5 separate regions of the Homo sapiens genome follow, and all the other regions are linked to region 1. Evidence: promoter capture Hi-C in 16 types of primary human blood cells and fetal thymus (Javierre and others, 2016). All regions are on one chromosome and are shown on one strand. The core of a region is centred on a gene start or on the middle of the fragment in contact, and the rest is flanking DNA. Distances in the headings are between cores, read along the strand shown. Region 1 holds the start of PIR (pirin). Region 2 has its middle 10 kb from the start of GEMIN8. Region 3 holds the start of TRAPPC2 (trafficking protein particle complex subunit 2). Region 4 holds the start of S100G (S100 calcium binding protein G). Region 5 overlaps CTPS2 (CTP synthase 2).

Region 1 (2,700 bases), core at 57-2,556:
CCACCCCTTCCCCAGTGCCACTCATCTGTCAGCCTCACTGGTAGCACCCATGAGGTAGTTGCTACCAATGAGGCTGACAGATGGGGGCAGGTTTGTGTGGCGCCTTAGAGAAAATGGAGAAAAACAAAGAGGTCCCTAACTCTTACCAGAACATGCTGAAGATCTTGGCATTAAAAGAGATCTTCGAGGGTCATTGAATTCAAAGACCCATCTATTCCTGAAGTTCAGGGCCAACATTTTGGGCAAGAAATCTTTCAGCTTACTCATGAAGTCTCCTAGAGCATAGGCAAGTCATGGACCAGCTGTTCTTGGCAATGTATCTCATATTTCAGGACTTACCTATAGCCAGAGTTTGTTATTCGAAAGTCTTTTCCTCTTTGGGAGGTCTAGGTTCTAATGGACTATCCCAGAAGGAATATAATCTATCCCTATTCCACTTCAAGTGTTTGCAGACAGTACCCCCAATCCCTTAAATCTTTTCTTCAAGTGAAATATACCCAATTCCTTCAAAGATTCCTACTGAAACGAAGAGAGGTGCTTTGGCAAAAAGCAGACTCTGGAACCAGACAGCCTAGGTTTGCATCTCAGCTTCACCACATATCAGCTGTGTGACCTGAGGTTTTCTGTGGCTCAGTTTTATCTGTAAAATGGAATGATAAGACCGCCTACCTCAAAGGGGTGCAGTTAGTGCTATGAGAATGTTAGCTGCTGTTATTCAGAAGGGCTCTACTCCACAATACCCTCCACTTAGTCAAGGCCTACCCTAAAATGTATCCTCCCTGAATAGTAATCGATAAATATTTATTGGGTGATAGGTTGCAAGGCGCAGAAACGAGCTTAATACTCAAAGCAGTACAGGCCGGTCATCACCTACATCGAAGCAACCAGAAAGTATCTTTATCCCCATCTAGATTATGTCTGGGTCCTTCCAGACTCCTACGATTAAATTGTATGCATGTGAACAACTGATGAGGTACTTAGATCTCAGTGCTTTGCAGAAAGAAAAGCCGTCTACCATTTTCACCAAATTTCGTAGTACAATTTAAGTATCTCTTGTTATCTCCCCTAGGAGTCTAAAGTGAGCTGGGGAAGGCAGGATTTTGCAAACTGACCGCCAGCATTCCCTCACCTAGTGGACCCCTGCAGGAGCCCCAGGTACTCACGCTGCGGTAGCGGCACCTGGAGCCTTAGCGGCGGGGGTGACGCGAAGAGCCGCCGGGAGCGAGTGCAGGGAGGGCAGGTTAAGAGAGTGTGGGTCCAGTAGCCTCACCGTGACTCAGCGCTTCGCGGCCGGCGGCCTAGAGGAGGCGGGAGGCGGGAGTCTACGGGTCTCGGAGGCCCTGGGGCTCCGCCCTCGGGAATGTCACTCCACTCTCGCTCCGCCCTACGCCTCTCCCAGGCCAGCTTGGCGGCCCTTTGGCCTCCCTGCCTCTCGTGCCGGGAAGAGATGCTCACTCGGGTAATTTAGGCGGCACTTGCTGTGCTCCAGGAGGAAATGTGTGGCCCGGGCAGGTGCTCTGATCGGCGCTCCGGTCGGTCTTGTGGGAAATCTGTTTTTAACTGTAGTCTCCCTGTCACCCAGCCGGCGGAGCTTGGCGGCACGGATTCCAGTGCTGCCTCCACCGCTGGGAGGCACCACTTGACATGACCTGGGACAGGTGGCTCAGTCTCTCTGTGCCTCTGGTTCCTCCTCTATAAAATGAGGATGGTGATGATAATAGTGCCAGCCTTATCGGGCTGAAATGAGAATTAAATGAGCCTGTCACATTCTAAGCACTACAGAATCGTTTGTTCCATAGATAAGTTGCCTGCTGTTTGTCAGTTAGAATTGCGAGAAAAGGAGTGCGGGAGTGGGGACGGGCAGCCATACGTCTTTATTCCTGCCTGAAGAGAAGGCACACTCTAGTGGGGAGATAATTGGTTAAGAGTTTGTATGGTGTTGGAACACAGTGGGCAGGCGTTGGAGAGTTTTTCCAGAAGAATGAGGAGCTGGCACAAGCCAGTGAGGGGATCTAGTTGATTACTAGGATTATTAACTAGTGGTACAGGCATAGCTGCAGTTTCTATTCTCTAAACACCAGAAGGCTCATTGCCTGGTTTTGAGAAAGGAAAGACAGTGGTGTCTCTAAAATAAGGTTGGAAAACTTTGTCTGTGAAGGACCAGATAGTAAATACTTTGACTTTGCAGGCCATGTACATTCTCCAGTTTGCCTTTGTAGCAAGAAAGCAGCCATAGATAACATGTAAATAAATGAATGTGGCTGTAGTTCAATAAAACTTTAATTATGAATACTGAAATATAAATTCATAAAATTCATACAATTTTGAGTTCATATAATTTTTACTTGTCATGAAATATTATCCTTCTTTTGATCTTAAATGTAAAACCACTTAAAATGTAAAAACCATTCTTAGCCCTCTGGCTATACAAAAATAGGTAGTGGGCTACCTACTCATTTTGGCTGCAGGCCTAGTATGCAGATCCCTGCTCTAAAAGAACAGGTTAGTAGAGGAACGAACACTTTTCTCTGGGCTTTTAAAATATCAGTGGGGCTTAAACCCGTCCTCATCACCTTACTTAGGCAGTTCAAGGCTAGCTGAGATAATACACATGAACATTAAAGGTGCTATGGAATAACAAAGTATTGTTTCTTATCGTCATTGTAACTAGTTCTGCAACTGTCTCCTCTACCTCTGCAG
Region 2 (2,700 bases), core at 68-2,567, 1.5 Mb before region 1:
GGGGCTGTCCTGTGCACTATGGGATGCATAGCAGTATCCCTGGGCTCTACCCACTAGATGCCAGTAGCACACATACACACCTCCCTCCCCTTCAGTTGTGATGACCAAAAGTGTTTTCAGACATTGCAAAATATGCTGGTGGTGGGGAAGGAGGGGATAGCAAATTGCCCTCAGTTGAAAACCACTGGGGTAGAGAGAAGGGCTGAGCTTGAATGTGTGCCTAACAACTGTGGTAAACCCCAGGGGATTTAGGGAGCCAGAATGGCCCTTCTGAGTTGTAGAAAGTTGGGCTGATATGGTGGGCACTTTTTTCTCCAGCATGGATCAGTCATTGGATGTGGGCTCCTGAAAAGGGGTGTGACATTGCGTAAGGAGGCTCTCTGTGACTGGAGCCGCAAGTTCCTCATTGAAGGGGAATCTGGAACATCCCAGTGTTCATGGCATGTGCTACTCTGCAGTTGTTCATTTACTTCTCACCATTTTCCATTTAATAATAAAATTCTTGAGAATTGAGACCACATATTATTTTGTTGTGTATCATTGAAATCCAGTATGCTACATGGGAATAAATATTTTTAAATAATGAAACGAAATGAGACAATAATTGGGTGGATATTTGTAAACTTAAATATGATAATAAATGGTTTCATTATGCATTTTATTGAGATATGAGAAACTTTCAAGAGATTTATCCATATTTATATTTAGTTATGAGTTCTTTTTTGAGAAGTAACAATTTACTCAGCTGACAGCACTAAACAGTACTGAGCTAATCTTTAACAATGTTTTGATTTCTGTAAATGAGATTATCAGTAATTTAAAAAGAGGATTAGGAAGTTTGTGTGGGATAGAACCAACTAATTGCTGAAATATACACAGAATTCAAGTATTGAAAAGTTTTACTTTAAAAAGATGTGATTATAAAGCATTGTTTCCTATGTATAGCCCTGTAAAATAATACCCATGTGCATCCGGCAGAGGGCACAATTGTACAAAGTATTGGAGAAATGCTTTTAAAAGGAAGTGCATTAATCTCTCAGTCATAGGCTGTAGTGACACATGTCAGTCACATGTAAATGACTCTATACATCTAAAATTCAATAGTGTATTGTTTTTAGATGATATTTCACTACTGCGTTTCCAGCTCTATTCTTTCACATTGTTTTTAAAGTTACTACATCTTCAACAAAATCCGAATTAGGTTAAAATTAATCTCTAAATAATTTTCATTTCAACTGGCTAAAATAATTTGAGGCCAACAATGTGTAAGGCTTTTTTAGAGCATAATTTTACGTATGTTATGTTTTCTGTCCTCACAAGATATTTTATGGGTCATTGACATAGAAGCACAACTACATATACTGTGCAGAATCACCCTTCTACATTAAGAAAAAAAATCAGGTCCTGTCCCTGTATACTGTCAGATTTTTCTTGGCATGGATCTTGTACATGATGAGCTTGCACGGTGAAATGGATGAATCCCTGTCCGAGGGATGGAAGGTCTGTCTTTGTCCCTTCCTGGTTGTGTCACTACTTCTCAGAGCCTGCCTATCTTCATCTGTTAGTAGAGGAACAATGATGCCCACGGGGCCCTCTTCACACATGGGTGTTGTGAGTTCATGGTTTAAGAGCCATGATATCCACTCATTAGATGCATGTGCCATAGGACAGGAGTAACTGAGTAACTGAAGCAACAGCAGGCGTCAAGAAGTGTCCACTGGACGGTGGTCAGATTCTCTAGTTTTCCCTCTGCTAAGAGTTTGACTGAATGAATCTCTGGGTTCTTGGGCAATTCAGGGAAGTGGGGGAGAGTCAAGTGAGGAGTTAAATTTCTGCTAATCTGGGGAGGAGGGCTTTGACTGGTATTACAACCTCATTTTCACCACAACCTCGTAAAGCAAGTCACTGTTCAAATACATTTCTTAATTTAGATATATTTCTAATTTCACTTTGGTGAATTTATTGTTTGATAGTAATCCAAAACTACACAAGGACAGAATAGCTGTATATGTGAAGGTGTTTATTGCAGTATTGTTTATTGATAATTGGTAAAATTGAAAGCAATTTAGGAACATGGACTATTAGGCAGCCATCAAAATGAAAATTATGAATATTATATAGGCACATGGAAAGTATGTGATGAATGATAAGTCAAGTCAAAGCAAAATAAATCATATATTATGCTAATAGCTATGTAAAAGTTGAGAATATATGTGGTTGGGGAACAATGGCAAGAAAGATGGAATGGTAATAACTTCTAACCTGTCCAGGAGTTAGTAGCAGTCTTTGTGTGTGTGTCTCTCTCTTTCCCTCCTAAATCACATTATTGCGGTTATAGTATATTTGTAGAATGAGACACTTCTAAAGAGATTTTTCGTGCTTTGTTTGAAATACAGTAATGCCCAATTTGTCCAGTCTGTTAGGAAAGAAGTGGCCTATTTAAATGACTTATGAATCTTCTTTTCCCCATTAACTGATGTTTACTCCTCTAAACACAAAAACAACAACAACAAAACCATTTTGACTAGAAATCTTTCTAAAATCTATTGTGTACTTTCCTGTCTTCTCCAACAGTTTCCTGAGCACATTTTATTCTTGTCTTTATATCTCAGGCTTACCATGATGAATGTCAATTTCTCTCCCACACTAGAATGCAATGAGCAATACAAATATAGGGTTATTTGCCTCTACATGGCATGA
Region 3 (2,700 bases), core at 73-2,572, 1.8 Mb before region 1:
GCTCCACGTGTCTTTTCTCAGCCCTATTGTTCCACCTCTGCTAGCGTTGACTCGTTTACTTATTTTTTCTCCCAAATTCACTTTGACTATATCGAGTTCAGAGCTACTATCATTTCTCTCTTCATGCCTGGAATGTTCTCCTTTATTCTGTCTGCAACCACTACCCATCCTTTAAAATCCAACTAAGCCTCTCCTCCTTTTCCATTGTTTCCAACAAAAACTTACAGGTTCTCCACCTCCTATGAAGTCCTGTCACTCTTACTGCCTCTTAAATACTTTAAGTTTTTCACAGCCAGAGATCAAAACTCATCGTACTCATCTTCAATGCTGTACACAAAGCTGACATCCAATTCTGTCCTCACAGGACTTAGATACCATATAAGGCTTATATTCCCAGCACACAACTCTGGAGTCAGGCTAGATTCCTCACTGCTCCCAAGAAGGTCGTGGCTTTTTTTTTTCTTTTAATGATTCCTTTGCTCATTTTTCCCCTTCCTGTGATGTTCTCCTTTTTGCTCACCACCCGAATCCTACCCATCAAGGCCCCGATAAAGACACACTTTTTCCACAGAGATGATCTGGATCACTTCCATCTTCAACCACCTCCCCTTTAAACTCTTTATCCAGTCTACAATGTATCTTAGTTCTTGTTCAATTCTCTGGCTGTAACATTTTCATTATCGCTTCTGAGAGGTTTGGTTCCTTTCCTTTCTAATTACATTTAAGCATCATGAGGACTGGCTCACCTTTACCTCACAGCACACAATGGTTGGTACTCTAAAACGTTTAGCTCTGTGGATCTCAACCCGGAGCGATCTTGCTTCCAAGAGGACATCTGGCAATATCTGGAGACATCTTTGGTTGTCACACTTGGGGGAGAAGGTGATACTGACAAAATAGAGAGCAAGGATACAGCTAAACCTACAATGCACAGGACAGCCTCCCAAAACAAAGAATCTTCCGGCTCCAAAAGGCAACAGTGCAGCCGTTAAGAAACCCTGGGTTAGCTGAATGACCCAGTGAACCGCGAAACCACAGCCCCCGAGAGGGCGGACGTCTGCAGGTGGAAGGGCTGCGCGGATGAGCCAGCGGAGGGCTGGCAGGTCCGGCCCGGCCACCCCGGGGAGGGGTGGAGGTACAGGACCAACATCCGCGTCACGCAGGGGCTACGAAGTCCTCCAGGGACTCAAAACACCCGCCCCCCGCCGCACTTGCTCCATTCCCTACCTGCAGTGGGAGGCCGACAACGGAAACGCAATGTCAGTTTCCGCGGAAGAGACCCGCGCCCCGAACCTGTAGCCAGAACGCCGAAGCAGTTCTCGCGATACCCTGGGATGTGCTCTCGCGATACGTAGGCGGAGCTTCCGGCCGGTGCTGGGCAACCAAGCTCATGCGCCGTAGCTCTTCAGCTCGGGAAGGCTATATTTAGCAGGTTTCCGGAAGTTGCCGGACTGGCTGTGAGGCGGTCCTGCCTCGCTGCCTTCAGTCCCTAGTGTCTGGGTCCCCGCCCTCCAGCCGCCTTTGAGTCGTGCCTGGGTCCTCGCCCTTGCCTCAGAACCGCGAAGAAAGGAAGCTCGCGTGTTTGCTAGAAAACCTAGTTGGGAGTGCGAGGCAGAGAACGTTCAGCACCTTTGTTCCTCCCGAACCCTCGGGACAGAGGCAGGGTTCTGAGGGCAGGGATTCCCCCTCGTCTTGGCCCCACCGCCCGGGCTGGGCACTAAACTCGGGCCGCGGCGGGGCGAGCGAGGCGGGCTCCGGAGGGAGCTGACGCCTGATGATGGCGCAGGTAGACACACCTGCCCCTTCTCGGGCGGAAATAAAGTCTTGTTTTGTGTTCGTTAAACTTTCGCCGCTAGGCCTCTTATGGCTTCCCCGGAGGCCACTGGTCTGTTTTCAGACGTTCACGTTCCCTCTGCCCCGCAGGTAACCTATAACCATTTTGTCTTTTAGTCCAACATGTTTACCGTGGCTGATGTGTTGAGTCAAGATGAACTGCGCAAAAAGCTATACCAGACGTTTAAGGATCGGGGTATACTGGATACACTCAAGGTATCGGATTTAGGCGTATCTGTGTCAGCTTTTACAAGTGTAACCTGTAACAGGTAGTTCAAATTCAATCAAGGTTTAGGTTTTAATAATCGTATGATACATAGATTGTATTGGTGAATTACATTTTTATATTCCCGAATAACTCTGTATCCTGAAACATTACAGTCTCTTGAAAATGTTTGAGAAAATGTTGAGTTTGAGTCGTCTTAAAGGAGCATATTCAAATAATTAATTGAACTGACAATAAGATAGGAGAAGGAAATATTTGTATAATGAACACAGTAAGATTAGGCTTGTTTTATAAATATGGCTTATAGGTTCCTAAATTAATAAGTGGGTTTGTAATACATTTGGATGAAGGACATTGACACCATATAGAAAATACTAGTGTACTGCTTAATAATAGTTTGGGAAATGAAAAATTTTATCTTTAAACTATATTGAAATGTATGAATGTTTAGTTTGGGCAGAAAATACCTATTAGTATGCTTTATATTTGGATTAACAGCCAGGAGTAGGATTAGCTCAACGTGTTTTCATTGAAATATGCATTTCAAAAGCATATTTTACGTTTAAAATATGTAGCTATATCCTGTGTATGTATCCTTTTTTAATTTAAATTATATGGTGAGCATTTCCCTGTTTCCTTAA
Region 4 (2,700 bases), core at 36-2,535, 1.2 Mb after region 1:
ACATCAGGGAGAAATACAGTCCCAATAGTCCAGTCCTCAGTTTGTAGGTGATATAAGGCAGAGTCAGGGAAAATTCTATAAGTGTGGAAGTGTACAAGTGTTTCAAAGCTGTAAAGTGCTCTTAAAATCCACCTGGAACCCCTTCCTGTGAGTTACAATCAGCATTAGATCAATGTCCCTTGGAAATGTCCTACTTATTTCATGGAACTCTTTCCAGTAGAAATCAATCTCCTTGGCAATTTTAAATCATGGCAGTTACAAAAAGTTTGAAGTATTTCCAACTGAACAAGAGTAAGTCGAGTGTTCTCACAAGTTTTTCGAATGATCACGAAATATATTTGGTAAGGAAAAGGATAATGAGAAATAAAAAGCAGACACAGGACCAACAAATAATGAAAGAGCTGAAAAAATGACCATGTTACTCAATATTGATTTGCCAAATAAAACCACAAATTACTGAGTATCTTCTTTCCACTTCTTAAACCTGCTTCTGAAGCAATACTTCCATTCATTCATTCATGTATTCAAATATTTAAGCTGCTAATATGTAAAGACATCAGAAGGACTTCAATGGCCATACCGTAATTTTTTAAACTATGTAATATTGTCCTTCTATGACAGCATTTTTTCTTTTTTACAGACAGGATCTCACTCTGTCACCCAGGCTGGAGTGCAGTGGCACAATCATGGCTCACTGTTGCCTCAACCTCCCAGGCTTAAGGAATCCTCCCACCTCAGCCTCTACAGTAGCTGGGACTACAGGCATGTACCATCACACCTGGCTGATTTTTTAAATTTTTCAGTAGAAATGTCTTGCTGTGTTGACCAGGCTGGTATCAAACTCCTCACCTCAAGCAATCCTCCTGCCTCGGCCTCCCAAAGTGCTGGGATTACAGGCATGAGCTACCGCACAGGGCAGCATTTATTTTTTCTGGATATGAAGAAAGTTATTTTTTAAAGCCTAAATATGCAACTAAATTGAAAAGAATCCTCTATATCTAAGCTTTATGAAATGTGAACTGTGAGCAAATATAATTCTACATTGGAGGGAAAATATAATCTCAGGGGGAAAAAAATCCAAGCTTACGACTCTGAACCATGAAGCAACTGTCGAGATGGACCTTTACTGGATCTTGCCCTTAATTATGGGGTTCATGCAGTCTTAAGCCTGAGTTTCAAAAACCATTAATAATTACCCTTAAATGGCCAACAAAAGGAAATTTTCATAATCAGGGTGGCGTGCCCGTAAAGACTATAAAAGTGTCATGATTCTGCTCAGCTCTTCAAACTCCTCTTTGATTCTTCTAGCTGTTTCACTATTGGGCAACCAGGTTAGTGTGATTTTGGTACTACCTAGAGCTCCTTCTGTTTGCATTAATACTCTGCTTCCTTTTAGAATGGTGTGAAAGATAATGGTCTGGAGAGAAGGTGAGTTTATGCCATCTGGAGATATTCCCTGTAACTTAGAAGCTAGAAGCTGTGGTCAAGTATTCTTCAAGACCACAGCCTGCAGAGTGCAGATCAGGTACATAAAAAGTGTAGAATGTCATTAATTACTAATAAAAATGTTTGGCTCCAGGGACCATCTCCTAACAGATGTACTCTAAGAACAGACATTTAACATACTATCTAAGATGTCTTTTTTTTTTTTTTTTTTTTTTTGCAGCGGAGGCTCGCTCTGTCACCCAGGCTGGAGTGCAGTGGCATCGCACTCACTGCAACCTCCGCCTCCCGGGTTCAAGCGATTCTCCTGCCTCGGTCTTCCAAGTAGATGGGACTATAGGCACGCACCACCACGCCTGGCTAATTTTTGTATAGAGACAGGGTCTCACCATGTTGGCCAGGCTTCCATGGTCTCGAACTCCTGACTTCAAGTGATCCACCCTCCTTGGCCTCCCAAAGTGCTGGGATTACAGGCATGAGCTACCGTGCCTGGCCTAAGATGCTTATTTTTTAAACATGTTAGTAGTTACTGGTGCCATTCCGACCCCGACATTCTCTTTTCCTTATTCTTCCCCATTTATGCCAAGGAAATGGCCCAATGGCACTAAAATCCTGCAGACAACCCTCAGCACAAAACTGTACTTCAGCTTTTTGGTAAGTTTATTTTCTTCCCAATTTATAAGACACCAGAATGAGTACTAAAAAGTCTCCTGAGGAACTGAAGAGGATTTTTGAAAAATATGCAGCCAAAGAAGGTGATCCAGACCAGTTGTCAAAGGATGAACTGAAGCTATTGATTCAGGCTGAATTCCCCAGTTTACTCAAAGTAAGTGGCCATCCGCAGAGCCCACTTAATGGGACTGATGGTGGGAGGGGAGGGAGGGAGGGGAGAGGACTCCGGTAGAGCCTTATAGGGACCGTCGCTTGAGGGAGGACACATGCAGGTGGGGTTTCTTCCCCTTAAGTCAGGCCACATTTCAGAAGGCAAGCTCTCAGAAAACAAGGGCCAAGCCTTCTATCCCTCCTGCAGCCTCAGCACAGGACTCTGCAGGACTAGCCATAATAAATGGAAGCAATGCCAAGTTATGCCTGGAAGACCCACAAGTCACCAAGCAAACCCAATAAGGCCTTCAGCATGGATTCAGTACTTCTGTGCCAGGCTTTAGGAAAACAAAGAGGACTGCAAAATAGTGTTAGCTGGCCTTGGACAGGCTTCATTTGTGTATGTAAAATCCCTCAACAAGACCAACACTTACT
Region 5 (2,700 bases), core at 94-2,593, 1.2 Mb after region 1:
CAATTTTAAAAGCCTATTGAAAAATAATTATTCTTGCTGCACTTTATACAAATAATCAGGCCAAGTATAATAAAGCAAATTGTTCTTACCATGATTTGTCTTTAGTGAAAATGGGAAACTGGAGAGAGAAAAAATTATGTTTCAAGAACTATGGTCTAACTGTTATTATTATGAATTCTAGTCTTATTGGTTGTTTTTGAAGTTTTTTTCTGCAATTTAGACTGACCCTGCTTATTCCTGTGAAACAATCAGTGATCTGTGACTGCAGCTCAGAAAAAAACAAGAGCAGGGCTGGGCGTGGTGGCTCACACCTGTAATCCCAGCACTTTGGGAGGCCAAGGCGGGTGGATAACGAGGTCAAGAGTTCAAGACCAGCCTGGCCAACATGGTGAAACCCGTCTTTACTAAGAATACAAAAATCAGCCAGGCATGGTAGCGCGTGCCTGTAATCCTAGCTACTTGGGAGGCTGAGGCAGAAGAATTGCTTGAACCTGGGAGGCGGAGGTTGCAGTGAGCCGAGATCGCACCACTGCACTCCAGCCTGGGAGACAGAGCAAGACTCTGTCTCGGAAAAAAAAAAAAAAAAAACAAGAGGGATGGGTAACGTAAAAATTGGGATCAGTATTCTAATTCTGGGCATGTATTGAAATCAGCTAGCAACTGCATATCAGCTTGGTTCCAACAGTTGCCCAGTTCATGGAAAGCCTTCTAATTTAGTTTACTTGGGATAATTTTTTGCTTTACTGTTGTGGAATATATTGCTATTGTACTCTTTGTGTAGGAATGCAGAATAAGCTTACTCAATGTTTTCTTAAACTAAACATTTATTAATCTTCCAGATATCACCTTTTGTTGGAACTCAGAGTTATGAATGGCCCTCGCCATCTGACGCTTTCTGACTGACCTCTTCTCTACCCCAAATACAAGAGACTCTAATAGGGAGGAATGTCATTGCCCCTATTCAACACGAAGAAGTTACAGAAGATGGAGCTTTGTCCCTCTGCAACCCTTAGTATTAAGAGTTCTCCTATAAAAGGGAGAGGGGAAATATTGAACCACAGCAACTCCATCTTGAATAGGGGCTGGGTAGAATAAGGCTGAGACCTACTGGACTGCATTCCCAGATAGTTAGGCATTCTAAGTCACAGGATGAGATAGGAGGTCAGCAAAAGATACAGGTCATAAAGACTTTGCTGATAAAACAGGTTGCAGTAAAGAAGCCAGCTAAAAGCCACCAAAACCAAGATGGCAATGAGAGTGACCTCTGGTCATCCTCACTGCTACACTCCCACCAGTGCCATGACAGTTTACAAATGCCATGGCAACATCAGGAAGTTACCCTATAAGGTCTAAAAGGGGGAGGCACGTATAATTCATCCCTTCTTTAGCATGTAACCAAGAAATAACCATAAAAGGGGCAACCAGCAGCCCTCAGGGCTGCTCTGCTTGTGGAGTAGCCATTCTTTAATTCCTTTACTTTCCTAATAAACTTGCTTTCACTTTGTAAAAAGAGAGAGAAAAAAAAAGCTGTCATTCTTGTACTTTAACTTTGCATATGTAAGATTCATCTCTGCATCTTCCAGGAGAATCAACACACTTTCCCTCTGCATCCTTCAGGAGAATCAACACACTTTCCCACAGTATCCCCATCCTCCCCAAATAAAACCATTTCTATGCACATGCCACCAGCATTAACATGGCACATTTCAAATCAACGCAGTATGATCGTGGAACAATCACCTGCAAAGACCACAAGTACTCCAAACTACCTTTCAAAATGCATGAAAATTAGCAATTAGGGTAAACTGAATCATTACAGAAAAAGTACAATGGTCCTATCCTAACTGGTGTGCGTGGGCCCTGGTACTCACTCAGCTTTGCATAGCTTCTGCCAAGCTTCATGAAATTTCACAGGGTCCTCGGTTTCAGTGATCTTCTCCAGATCAATGGAGTCTATGTACTAAAAAACATCCAACAGATAAAAGGAGTATTTAAGAAAAATAAACACTCAAAAATACTGCAGCCATCTAATACTATGACACATTATTCAATAATTACTTATTATGCAAACACTGTACTGGGCACTAGGGATAGAAAAACAGTCTCTGTTTTGCGGCTCTTATAATCTTTCAGAAAGATTACAAAACCAGATAAACGGGCATCCACACTATACTGTGATAATGGCTATGACAGACAAAGAAGAGAACGATGCAGAAGTAACTTGGGGTCAACCGCGTGGGGTGGCACGTGCCTGTAGCCCCAGCTACTTGGGAAGCTGAGGTGGGAGGATCCTTTGAGCCTGGGAGGTCCGGGCTGCAATGATCCCTGATTGTAACACTGCATTCCAGCCTGAGTGACAGAGTGAGACACTGTCTCAAAAAAAAATTTAAAAAAAAAGCAACTAGGACGTCACTAGAACTGAACACTGGAGGAAAGACAGGAAGGATTGACGTCAAGGAAGAGCTCTGGGGAGGTAATGTTCAAGAAGCCAGCCGAGAGGAGAGCAGAAGCAAGATAAGCACGTGTGTGATGGGAGGCAGCAGGAGACAAAGAGAGGAGGGGAGAAGGGTATGAAATCTCCAGCAGGCCGGGCGCATTGGCTCATGCCTGTAATCCCAGCACTTTGGGAGGCCGAGGTGGGCAGATCATCTAAGGTTAGGAATTCAAGACCAGCCTGGCCAACGTGGCAAAACCCCGTCT

Evidence for each region. Contacts are between HindIII fragments. The CHiCAGO score rates a contact against its expected background, and 5 or more counts as called.
Region 2: a fragment that was not itself captured here is called in contact with the fragment with the promoter of PIR in region 1 in 1 of 17 cell types (neutrophils); the score reaches 6.1 in neutrophils.
Region 3: a contact is called between the fragment with the promoter of TRAPPC2 here and the fragment with the promoter of PIR in region 1, in 1 of 17 cell types (neutrophils). The highest score is 5.8, in neutrophils.
Region 4: the fragment with the promoter of S100G here is called in contact with the fragment with the promoter of PIR in region 1 in 7 of 17 cell types (naive CD4 T cells, total B cells, total CD4 T cells and 4 more); the score reaches 9.0 in naive CD4 T cells.
Region 5: a contact is called between a fragment that was not itself captured here and the fragment with the promoter of PIR in region 1, in 7 of 17 cell types (total CD4 T cells, naive CD8 T cells, activated CD4 T cells and 4 more). The highest score is 9.1, in total CD4 T cells.

The regions. Positions count from the first base shown.
Region 1 is chrX:15,492,027-15,494,726 of GRCh38, forward strand. It overlaps PIR (pirin), which reads right to left and starts at 1,307. Exons shown (of 10, transcript NM_001018109.3): 1 at 1,164-1,307. RefSeq lists enhancers at 717-1,219, 1,220-1,723. The HindIII fragment of the contact is 4,696 bases long and covers 1-2,700 here.
Region 2 is chrX:14,038,539-14,041,238 of GRCh38, forward strand. No RefSeq gene overlaps it. Among named protein-coding and RNA genes, the nearest start is that of GEMIN8, 10 kb to the left of the region's middle. The HindIII fragment of the contact is 7,534 bases long and covers 1-2,700 here.
Region 3 is chrX:13,733,298-13,735,997 of GRCh38, forward strand. It overlaps TRAPPC2 (trafficking protein particle complex subunit 2), which reads right to left and starts at 1,323. Exons shown (of 6, transcript NM_001011658.4): 1 at 1,228-1,323; 2 at 747-888. It overlaps OFD1 (OFD1 centriole and centriolar satellite protein), which reads left to right and starts at 1,451. Exons shown (of 23, transcript NM_003611.3): 1 at 1,451-1,786; 2 at 1,951-2,049. The coding sequence starts at 1,775. RefSeq lists enhancers at 825-2,024, 1,793-2,364. The HindIII fragment of the contact is 7,868 bases long and covers 1-2,700 here.
Region 4 is chrX:16,648,873-16,651,572 of GRCh38, forward strand. It overlaps S100G (S100 calcium binding protein G), which reads left to right and starts at 1,286. Exons shown (of 3, transcript NM_004057.3): 1 at 1,286-1,331; 2 at 2,127-2,269. The coding sequence starts at 2,135. The region is part of intron 13 of CTPS2 (CTP synthase 2); the gene reads right to left. The HindIII fragment of the contact is 12,685 bases long and covers 1,081-2,700 here.
Region 5 is chrX:16,676,491-16,679,190 of GRCh38, forward strand. It overlaps CTPS2 (CTP synthase 2), which reads right to left. Exons shown (of 19, transcript NM_175859.3): 10 at 1,872-1,960. Among named protein-coding and RNA genes, the nearest start is that of S100G, 28 kb to the left of the region's middle. The HindIII fragment of the contact is 1,101 bases long and covers 794-1,894 here.